Linked DNA regions of Homo sapiens: region 2 is linked to region 1. The links are contacts of gene promoters, found by promoter capture Hi-C in blood cells and fetal thymus (Javierre and others, 2016). All regions are on one chromosome and are shown on one strand. Each heading gives the region's core, a stretch centred on a gene start or on the middle of the fragment in contact. The rest is flanking DNA. Distances are from core to core; before and after follow the strand shown.

Region 1 (5,289 bases), core at 321-2,820:
TTGTATTTTTAGTAGAGAAAGGGTTTCACCATATTGGCCAGGCTGGTCTCGAACTCCTGACCTCGTGATCTGCCCACCTCAGCCTCCCAAAGTGCTGGGATTACAGGTGTGAGCCACCGCGCCCGGCCTTGACTTAGGTTTTAAACAGATTGCATTGACTGTTGTGTTGACAACAGACTACAGAGGGGGCATAGAGAGCTGTTGGGAACGGTTGTAATTACCAGAAAAAAGAAAAATTATGATGGCTTGAGTAGAAGCTATAAAGTCAGCAGGTTGCATTGATGGATATGGAAAGAGAGGGCTCTAGGCCACATCTACTAAAAGACATGAAGAAGGAGCAGGGTTTTTGTTTTTGTTTTGGCAGGGAGGTGTTTGGGGAGGTTGTTTTGTACAATCAAGTGGATGTTGAATATACATTGATATACAAATCTAAAGTTCAGAGAAAGACCGGGCTGAAGAGAGAAATTTGGGAGTTGTAAGTAAATAGTTTTTTGTTTTTAGTTTTACTAAGTATTGCCTTTGTTTTAGTATGACTCGTTTATTTAGAAGTTTATATAATTTAATTTGTGATATGTCTTGTGTTTTTGTTTTGTTTGGGGCAGGTGCCCGAGGCCCTTGTCATCTTCATTGACTCCAGCTCATGGCTTGTATTTAACAACGAGCTCAGAAAAATTCCTAAAAATTTAATTACTGAGTCTCCAGAGCTCTAATGAGCTGGCTCCAGCACACAATTGCTCCTTTCTTTCATTCAACAATTTGACAAGTCCTGATGGCTCTACATTCAAAACATGTAAATTGGCCGGGCGCGGTGGCTCACGCCTGTAATCCCAGCTCTTTGGGAGGCCGAGGCGGGTGGATGACGAGGTCAGGAGATCGAGATCATCCTGGCTAACACGGTGAAACCCCGTCTCTACTAAAAATACAAAAAATTAGCCAGGCGTGGTGGTGGGTGCCTGTAGTCCCAGCTACTCGGGAGGCTGAGGCAGGAGAATGGCGTGAACCCGGGAGGCGGAGCTTGCAGTGAGCCGAGATAGCACCACTGCACTCCAGCCTGGGCGACGGAGCGAGACTCCGTCTAAAAAAAAACAAAAACAAAAAAACAAAAAACCGTATATCTTGAATCTGATCACTTTTCGCTTAGATAGTACTGTAATATAGTAATAGATAATGCTAGAAAAAATAATTAAAGCTATAGATATCATCTATTGTAGGTTTACTGATTGTCAGGCACTATGGCGACTCTCTGGAATGGTTCATTCCTCGCAAATGAATAGATAGGAGATATCTACTATCAGGAACTACAAACACAGTCTCCGTGCTGTGATCCGCTTTCACAGGGAATTTTGTCTGGGATTCAAGTAGCGGCAAGTAACCCTTTTTCGCCCTCCATCTCTGCTCAGGGGTGAGCCCTGGCAGCGCTCCTACCTGGGACCTACATTGGCTTAGTAAGATGGGCCGGCGCCCACCCCAGCCCTCGCGCATGCGCATAAAAGCCCACTCCCGGGGGCGGGGCCTGAGCTAGCTGGGCGGGGCCTGAAGGAGCCGGGAGCTCCTGCAGCTTCATCGCGTTACTAAGAGACGCGAGGGTCGCGAAGGGCACAACACTTGGCCTCTCGCTGGCCCTGCTCGCGGATCCCGAGTAGAGAACGCAAGCACCCACGCCCGCCTGCAAGCTCCCGGGCGCCCCCGGCCTCTCCTGCTCGGCGGAACGAGGATAACCCAGTAGAGCCGGACCCAGGGGTGGGTGGATGCGTCGCTGGAGGCGAGGGCCCTGCCCGCCAACCCCTGCGCCCCGGCCGTAGCCCCACCCCGGAAGTTCTTGCCCCGCCTTCTCGGCTCCGCAGTTCTCTGCTGTCTCCTGAGGTTTGCCAGGGAGATCCCGTGGTTTTCATGTCTCTTCCGTGATTTTTAGGGAAGAGGGTCACTATTTGGCCCTTCCAGAATCTCAGGGTCCGGTTCTCCCGGAAGTTTCCGGGCCGCCCCGGACCCCATTGGCTTTAGGGGCCGCGTCTCCGAGGGCTCCGATTTGGGCCCTAGATTTTGGAATACTGTGTTTTGTCCGTCCCAGCCTTCACCAGGCGGATTTCATCTCCCACACAGTTAGTGATTTATGGCAGAAAGGAAGCTGGAGGGATGGGGACTGCAGGTTAGCTGTGAGGGCCGGAAGGGAGCGGTTTTGTGCTGCACACAGGCAGGTCAGCACTCCCAGAGCAGGGACCGCCGGGCGTGCTTTCGGAACCGCTTTTGTCTTTCAAATGAACGCCCAGCGACAGCAGACGGGAGTTCCAGGACCTTAGAGACCGGCTAATGCTTCTCTTTAAGTTAGGAAACAGGCGCAGGCGTGTTCATGGCCTTGCCTAAGGTTACGTGCTGGTTACAGGGCTCCTCCTGCTGCCTCTTAAGAACAGAAATAATCTAATAGGAGGAATAAAAGGGACTATTAGGGAGGCTAATGCTCTTGAAGTTTTAATACTACTAAAAGTAAAAGCGCTTTTCAGAGTGAAAGGGAAGTGAAAAGGGAATTTGGGTGGCTGGCTACATCAGAAGCTTCTGTTCCAACTTTAGATTGTCAGGGAGTTGAGATGGTGTTTTTTGTTTTTATTTTTGTTTTAGTTTTTTGAGACGGAGTCTCGCTCTGTAGCCCAGGCTGGAGTGCAGTGGCGGGATCTCGGCTCACTGCAAGCTCCGCCTCCCGGGTTCACGCCATTCTCCTGCCTCAGCCTCCCGAGTAGCTGGGACCACAGGTGCCCGCCACGATGCCCGGCTAATTTTTTGTATTTTTAGTAGAGACGGGGTTTCACTTTGTTGGCCAGGATGGTCTCGATCTCCTGACCTCGTGATCCACCCGCCTCGGTCTCCCAAAGTGCTGGGATTATAGGAGTGAGCCACCGCGCCGAGATGGTGTGTTTTTAAAATAACGTGCCCGAGGCCGGGCGTGGTGGCTCACCCCTGTAATCCCAGCACTTTGGGAGGCTGAGGCAGGCGGATCACCTGAGGTCGGGAATTCGAGACCAGCCTGACCAACATGGGAAAACCTCGTCTCTACTAAAAATACAAAAAAATTAACCAGGCATGGTGGCGCATGCCTGTAATTCCAGCTACTCGGGAGGCTGAGGCAGGAGAATCGCTTTAACCTGGGAGGCGGAGGTTGTGGTGAGACAAGATCACGCCATGGCGCTCCAGCCTGAGCAACAAGAGTGAAACTCCATCTCAAAAAAATAATAAATAAATAAATAAAATAACATGCTCCTCAATTTAACTATGGGATTATGTCCCAATACACCCATGGTAGGTCGAAAATGCATTTAATGCACCTAGCCAACTTTAAACGTCCTCAGAACACTTAGCTCCCCTGCAGTTGGGCAACATCATCTAACACAAAGCCTATTTTATAATAAAGTGTTGACTATGTCATGTAACTTACTGAATACTGAATTCAAAGTGGAAAACAGAATGGTTGCGTGGGTACTCGAATTACTGAATGCGTATTGCTTTTGCACCATGGTAAAGTGGAGATATGAGTTGAACCATTCCACGGGACCATCTGTATGCATATAAACCCTAAGTATTTCATATAATTCAGTTTCACAAACCAGAAACTCAGGCATTGCTGTTTCCTGTTTGTGGAGCTACAACTTGGTATTTTAGATGTCAAATTTATTTATTTTTTTGAGATGGTGTCTTGCTCTGTCACCCAGGCTGGAGTGCAGTGGTGCGATCTTGGCTCACCGCAACCTCCGTCTCCTGGGTTCAAGTGATTCTCCTGCCTCAGCCTCCCGAAGTAGCTGGGACTACAGGCAGCCGCCACCGCATCCGGCTAATTTTTTTTTTTTTTTTTTTTTAGTAGAGACAGGTTTTCACCAGGTTGGCTAGGCTGGTCTCGAACCCTTGACCTCAGGTGATCCACCTGCCTCGGCCTCCCAAAGTGCTGGGATTACAGGCGTGAGCCACCGCACATGGCCAAAACGTTTATTTTTATTTATTTATTTTTTTAACATTTTTTTCTTGAGGCAGGGTCTCATTCTTGTCTCCCAGGCTGGAATGCAGTGACTTGATCACAGCTCACTGTGGCCTCAACCTTGGGGGATCAAACAATCCTCCCACCTTAGCCTCCCCAGTAGCTGAGACTACAGTCATGGGCCACCACACCCAGCTAATTTTATTTTTTGTAGAGATAGGGTCTCACTACGTTGCCCAGGCTGGTCTTGAACTCGGACTCAAAGGATCCTCCCTCCTCAGTCTCAGAAAGAGCTGGGATTACAGGTGTGAGCCGCTGCATCCAGCCATTAAATGTATTTTTTATCAATTCTTTTTTTGGCACAACTGCCAGCAAAGAAACCACTCAGTCTGCAAGAGCTAAGTACTAGCAGAATTAGAACTGCCACTGAATTTCCTAGAATCACTGAAAAATTTAATCAAGGAATTGTAAGTTGATCTTTCCTAATTTTAGTTTCATTTTGTGTTTTTAATAAACTGAAAGTAAGGGCAAAAAAAAAGAATTTCCACCACCACTTATATAGCGTAGTTACAGTAGTCACTAGAGTTCCTACTATGGTGAAATTTACATTCATATTCTCTTTAGGTATTTTGGGAAAATAAAATTTTGAAATGCTTAATAATAACCGGAGGATGTCTATTTCTACTGAGAAAAGTGGTGATTTCCCCCAAAGTCCAATTGAATACAGCATATTTTCTGCTCTTCTATTAAATGTAGCATTTTTATGTATAGTTGCCATAATTTTTTGAGCTGAAAGTGACAAAAGGTTACATAGATGGCATTCAAGAAAATACGTTTCGAATGAATATGAGCAAAAAGTCAAGCCTAAAGCAAAAAGGGCATAGATAAGACAAAAATTAAGATTGTATCACTACATGTGCTTCATCTGTAAAAGTCCTGTAAGTAATACAGTCACTAAATTCATATAAAAATATGACTAATTTGGAATTTTTTTTTTTTTTCTTTTTTTCAGACAGTCTCGCTCTGTCACCCAGGCTGGAGTGCAGTGGCACCATCTCGGCTCACTGCAACCTCCATCTCCCAGGTTCAAGCAGTTCTCTGCCTCAGCCTCCTGATTAGCTGGAATTACAGGCATGCGCCACCATGCCTGGCTAATTTTTATATTTTTAGTAGACACGGGGTTTCACCATCTTGGCCAGGCTGGTCTTGAACTCCTGACCTCGTGATCCACCCACTTCAGTCTCCCAGAGTGCTGGGATTACAGGCGTGAGCCACCGTCCTGTCCTGAAAGTATTTTAATACAGTGAATTCACTAACTTTTTTTTTTCTCT
Region 2 (6,140 bases), core at 3,483-5,982, 340 kb before region 1:
GTGAGGGCAGGCAGAAGGTGGAAACCTTGGAGAGGTATCACATGCAGAGCTCAGCAGTAAACCAGGAACCAGGCCTAAGAAGGAATTCTTATTGAGTAATAACCGAATTCCCACATGGTCCGTTCAGTGGTTACCAAGTCTTCATTGACCCCTGATGACCTGAATACTGAAAACAATAGGGAAAGGAAAACGAAGTTAAGAATATGGCATCTAGGCCGGGCACGGTGGCTCACGCCTGTAATTCCAGCACTTCCGGAGGCCGAGGCGGGTGGATCACGAGGTCAGGAGATTGAGATCATCCTGGCTAACACGGTGAAACCCCATCTCTACTAAAAATACAAAAAATTAGCCAGGCATGGTGATGGGCGCTTGTAGTCCCAGCTACTCGGGAGGCTGAGGCAGGAGAATGGCATCAACCCGGGAGGCAGAGCTTGCAGTGAGCCAAGATCACACCACTGCACTCCAGCCTGGGTGACAGAGCAAGACTCCACTTCAAAAAAAAAATAAAAAAGAATATGGCATCCTAATTTTATCATTTAAATAGCATAATCATGTAAATATAACAGAAGTCCCTTTATTTTGCTTAACTGTTTTGCACAATTGTTGTATGACGTTAATGTAATATTCCATAACTCAGGAAGATAATGCCTTTCAATAAAGAGACTTAGAGAACTCATTTGTGGAAAATCTTTGTGAAAAGTTGTGTGGTTTGCCAAGCAAATATAGCACATGCATACCTTTTTAAATTAATAGTACTTAGGAAGGATCAAAATGATATGCCCAAATCTGAAAGAACATGCTAGAAACCAGATGATAAGCTGTTTCATTAAAAGAGCCTCTGTGCATGAGCATTTGTGATCACAGGAATGGAATTACTTCATTAAATATGCTAACAGCACCAACAGTAAAGATGAGTATTGTCCCCTGCAGTAGTTATCCACTACAAAAGCATTTTGCAAGCTCCAAAACAGAGCTGTATTTCATAATGTAACTGAGTACTTTGCCAATTCTAGAGAGTTTAAAAATTCAGGAGAGTTTTATTTTCCAAACATTTAATATATGTACTGCCTAAAACACTTAATTTCGTTTTTAAAGAACACTTGCTTTTCATTGTTCACAATTTTAAAATCAAAGGGACTCTATGAAATGGTGGTTCTAACTTGTAACTGCACATCGCGAAGAATCGAGAGAAACAGCTGTTACTCACATAAACGACTACTGAATGATGCAAAGATCTGCATTTTACGTTTTTTTCTTTACATGAATCCAAAACCAGAAAAAAGGATTTCCTGAGAGTCTTCCTGTGTATTAAAACTAAAATCTCTAAATAGCAAAGAGAGGGGAACAAAATCCTTAAGCGCTCATCCTGTCAAAAATATTAAGGTAACTTAATGGTCGACACTAATGAGTAAACAAACCATCTCTGCAATTAAGCAATATGAAGATAATTTCTGTAAATTTCCTAATTCAAATAACTGACATACAATACAAATGGCCAAATTTCTGTGAACATTCTACAGTTTGCTCCAACTTTTTTTTCTTCTTTCTGATATTCGCTCTAGATACAGACATTTCCATTAGCGGGAAGTATCCTTTGGAATGCTTATATTATTAATAACTAGTTGAATGCCAGTTTTATATATATATATATATATATATATATATATATATATATATATATTCACCTAACTTCTATTAATTGCAATAAAATAAGTTCATGGAAGAATGGAAGGAAGGCTAGGCTAGGACTAAAGAGATCTGCCTGGTGACCTCGGATAAGAAACTTATCCAAAGCTTCAGTTTCCTCTGGACTTAACAGTAAATGAATTCATAGTTATTTCTGTAGTCCAGAAGTGGCACGGCTGCATTCTCTGCTGAAGGCCTCCCAAAATCAAAATCAAGATCTTGGCAGGGCTCATAGTTCATCTCGTCTGGAGCTCAAGGTCCTCTTCTAAGCTCATTCATTTATAAATATGTATAAAAATATATATGCATAAATTTTTCCTTGCTAGTTATTAGCTGGGAGTCACTCTCAGCCACAAAATACATATATTTATATATTTATATCCTCATACATATAAAACATTTATATGTCCTTATACATGTGTGTATATGTGTATGTGTGTGTATGTATGAGTATAAATATATATACATGTTATATACATAAGTCCTTATTTATATAAAAAGTTCCAGCTTTAGTTGTTGTGCTCCCCAGGCTTGTCTGGAAGAGAGAGCTGTGTGATCCACTCCAATCTTAGAAGTAAAGTTCAAACTGCAGCTAATGTTAAATCGTGCCAGAGAAGGTTTACTTATTAACTCTGCTTAGAGAAGTGTGTGACCCACACATTTGAACTGCTAATGATTACTGGACTTTTAAAACTGCTGTTCAAGTAATAACATTCTTCTATTTGTTCCACCAAATTTAACATGAACTAAAATCCTAACTAATGTTAGTGTTAGCTGGATAATATTAATAAAAGTTGGAACTTTATAAGGAAAAAGAGAGAATGAATGCATGATGGAAGGACAGAGTCCTTGGGCAGCTGAGGGCAGTTTCTGGAAAGGTTTTGCAATTCTCCTTGTTCGTCTCTCAGTTGCCATCAGCACTCAGAACAACCTGCCCTGTCCTTCCTTACTTACCCTGTCCAAGATTCCAGCTTGTTCTGGTGGCCTCCTTTTTCTAAGTCCACAGCTAACACACATTGCAGGAAACTGTACTTTGACAGGCACCTGCTTTTCTCAGCTCATTTCTCTCTGCAACAATTGCTTCAGCCATTTGCTATCATTTGTATCATTTCATACACAAATAATTACAAGGACAAAATAAAGAAATACAAAGATATGATAGAACTGTCCTTGTCTTTGACAGACCAAAGAAAATAACAGACCTTTGTCCAAAATGATAAGTGACAGGCTGAGAGACAAAGACACACAGAGAAAGAACAAGTAAAAAAGACTGGGAATAAAAATGGAGACATAACTGTAGATACCCCAAAACTAAAAACAGCATACAAAACCATGATGAGCAACTTTGTCTGGAAATGCAGATGAAATAAAAATTCCTAGAAAAATACAAGTCGCTACAAAGTGACTCAGGATGAAATAGGTAAACTTTCTTTTTTTAATTTTATTTATTTATTTGAGACAGAGTCTCACTCTGTCGCTCAGGCTAGAGTGCAGCGGCGCAATCTCAGCTCAGTGCAACCTCCACCTCCCAGGTTCAAGCAATTCTCCTGCCTCAGCCCCGCGAGCAGCTAGGATGACAAGCGTGCACCGCCATGGCCGGTTAATTTTTGTGTTTTTAGGAGAGACAAGGTTTCACCACGTTGGCCAGGCTGGTCTCGAACTCCTGACCTCAAGTGATCTGCCTGCCTTGGCCTCCCAAAGTGCTAGGATTACAGGTGTGAGCCACCTCACCGAGCCCATAAACTTTCAATGAATTGAATTGGCAATTGAAATGTTATCATAGAACAATAGAAACCTAGTGGTACGGAAATTGATTTTAAGAATGATTTGCTCATGACCATTCTTAGCTTGATTTGGAGAGATTCATAATCTTTTAAAAGACAGTTTATCCATGTGACTAATGAAAAGCAGAACTTCTCTTCTTACTCAGAACTTCCTTACTTACCCCATGCCTCCTTACTAACCTGACAGTTTTTTCACTGCACAAACTTCAAGATAATCTTAATTTCCTCACTTACGCCCTACATCTACTTTGGCGACAAAACCAAGACATTGCTTTCTCTGTCATTTCTCTCAAATCTACATTTTTCTCTCCATCTCTATCAAATTCTGCCTGGCCCACAGACACACAATCCTCAGAGTGCATATCCACTAATACTGCTTTCCTTCCGTCTGCCCCACACAAGCATACACTATGACTCAAGTCATCTCACAAACAGGCCACATCAGCTAGGCTAATCTAGTAAAACAAATTATACAACGCTTTTCCCTCAAAGCTGGACGACTGGCTTTTCTTTTATTAAAATTCAAAGTCAGCTGGGGGCAGTGGCTCACACCTGTAATCCAAGCACTTTGGGAGGCCGAGGAGGGCAGATCACTTGAGGTCAGCAGTTCGAGACCAGCCTGGGCAACATGGTGAAACCCTATCTCTACTAAAAATACAAAAATTAGTCAGGAGTGTTGGCGGGCGCCTGTAGTCCCAGCTACTCGGGAGGCTGATACAGAAGAATCGCTTGAACGTGGGAGGCAGAGGTTGCAGTGAGCCAAGATCGCGCCACTGCATTCCAGCCTGGGCGTCAGAGTGAGACTCCATCTCAATAAATAAATAAATACAATTTGAACTTGCTTCTTTCTTTCCCCCTAAACAGTCGTTGTCCTGGGAGGTTCACAGATCACATGAGGTCCTGTGGGCTCTTAGAGGCTCTGAGCACGATCAGAAGCCATCAGTGTGTGTGTGATACTGAAAGCCAGGAGCCTGCATTCACCACCAAGGGAGAAACTGAGGCCTGTGCCCAGGGCGCTCTGGCATTTAGTGGTCGGGGAGCTGCTGGGAACTGGCAAAAGAGACAGAGAAGGAGTCAGGTGCAGTGTCTCACGCCTGTAATCCCAGCACTTTGGGAGGCTGAGGGAGGTGGATCACCTGAGGTTAGGGGTTCAAGATCAGCCTGACCAACATGGTGAAACCCAGTCTCTACTAAAAATACAAAAATTAGCCAGGCATGGTGGCGCATGCCTGTAATCCCAGCTACTCGGGAGACTGAGACAGGAGAATTGCTTGAACCCAGGAGGCAGAGGTTGCAGTGAACCAAGATCGTGCCATTGCACTCCAGCCTGGGTGACACAGCAAGCGAGACTCTGTCTCAAAAAAAAAAAAAAAAAAAGAGACTTAGAGAAGGAATGGCCAGTGAAAGTGAATGGGACCCAAGGGAGCTATGAATGAAACCTGGAAACCAAGTGAGACCAGGGTTTCAAGCAGGAGAGGATGTGATGGGCACCTTTGTGAAACGCTGCTACCAGGTTACACGAGACAGGGACTGTTTACCAACCCAAGAATCACTCGGGGAGCAGCAGGGGTGAAGACCTGGCTGGAGTGGCTTCAAGACATAATGGGAAAAGAGGAATTGGAGGCAGCTAGTATAGGCAGCTTTGTCAAGGGTAGTAGACGGAGGGGAATCCAGGGCCAAGAAAGGTTTTGTTTCACTGTTTTGCTTGTTTTTAAAAATGGCAGAAACTGCTGGGTGTGGTGGTTCACATCTGTAATCCTAGCACTTTGGGAGGCCGAGGTGGGTGGATCACTTGAGGTCAGGAGTTCGAGACCAGCCTGTCCAATATAGTGAAAACTCATCTCTACTAAAAATACAAAAATTAGCTGGGCATGGTGGCATGTGCCTGTAGTCCCAGCTACTTGGGAGGCTGAGGCAGGAGGACCACTTGAACCTGGGAGGTGAAGGTTGCAGTGAGCTGAGATCATGCCACTGCACTCCAGCCTGGGTGACAAAGTGAGACACCATCTCAAAAAAACAAAAAAAAAGGCAGAAACAAATAATTTTCTATAAGCTGATAGGAACGATCTTGTAGGGAGAGAATTAATGGATATCTTTTGGTCTTCTGGACATTAAGCCTAGGCCTTGCTGAAGTGAACTCTACTCTAGCCAAGTTTCCTGTGAGGCATAAATACACCCACTTCCACCTCCCAATCTTCATTCATGATGTTCCCTCTGGCAGAAATGCTCTTCCTCCCCTCTGTTAGCAGATCCAAGTTTTGCCCATGCATTAAGTTTCTGTTCAAATCTTAGGTCTGCCACAAGGCCTTCCTTAACTTTTATAACCTAGACCAAGTGCTTATTTAATTTTTTAATAGCACTGAGCATTTATAAATTACTTATTAAGTATCTCTGTGTGGAAAGGAGTGAGCTAGATTTGGGAACAGAGTAAGTTAAATAAAAAGCACCATTCCATACTCGAGAAGCTAACAAACTTCTTATTTGTCCTAAGCAATAATTTTTTGTATGTGTTCCCTAATTACCTTGTCAACTTTGAAGGCAGGCAGGAATCAATGTTTTAATCTTTTTTAGTGCCTAGCACAATAAGTACTTCATAATCAGAGCTAGATAGATATTTATCAAATTAAATTAAAAATAAATATGACGGAATTACTTAGGCATACTTCCCAA

Evidence for each region. Contacts are between HindIII fragments. The CHiCAGO score rates a contact against its expected background, and 5 or more counts as called.
Region 2: a contact is called between a fragment that was not itself captured here and the fragment with the promoter of MEIG1 in region 1, in 2 of 17 cell types (neutrophils and monocytes). The highest score is 6.7, in neutrophils.

What each region holds. Positions count from the first base shown.
Region 1 is chr10:14,957,818-14,963,106 of GRCh38, forward strand. MEIG1 (meiosis/spermiogenesis associated 1) reads left to right here and starts at 1,571. Exons shown (of 3, transcript NM_001080836.3): 1 at 1,571-1,740. RefSeq lists a silencer at 1,794-1,843. The HindIII fragment of the contact is 3,683 bases long and covers 1-2,545 here.
Region 2 is chr10:14,609,849-14,615,988 of GRCh38, forward strand. The region is part of intron 2 of FAM107B (family with sequence similarity 107 member B); the gene reads right to left. Among named protein-coding and RNA genes, the nearest start is that of FAM107B, 160 kb to the right of the region's middle. The HindIII fragment of the contact is 5,880 bases long and covers 1,793-6,140 here.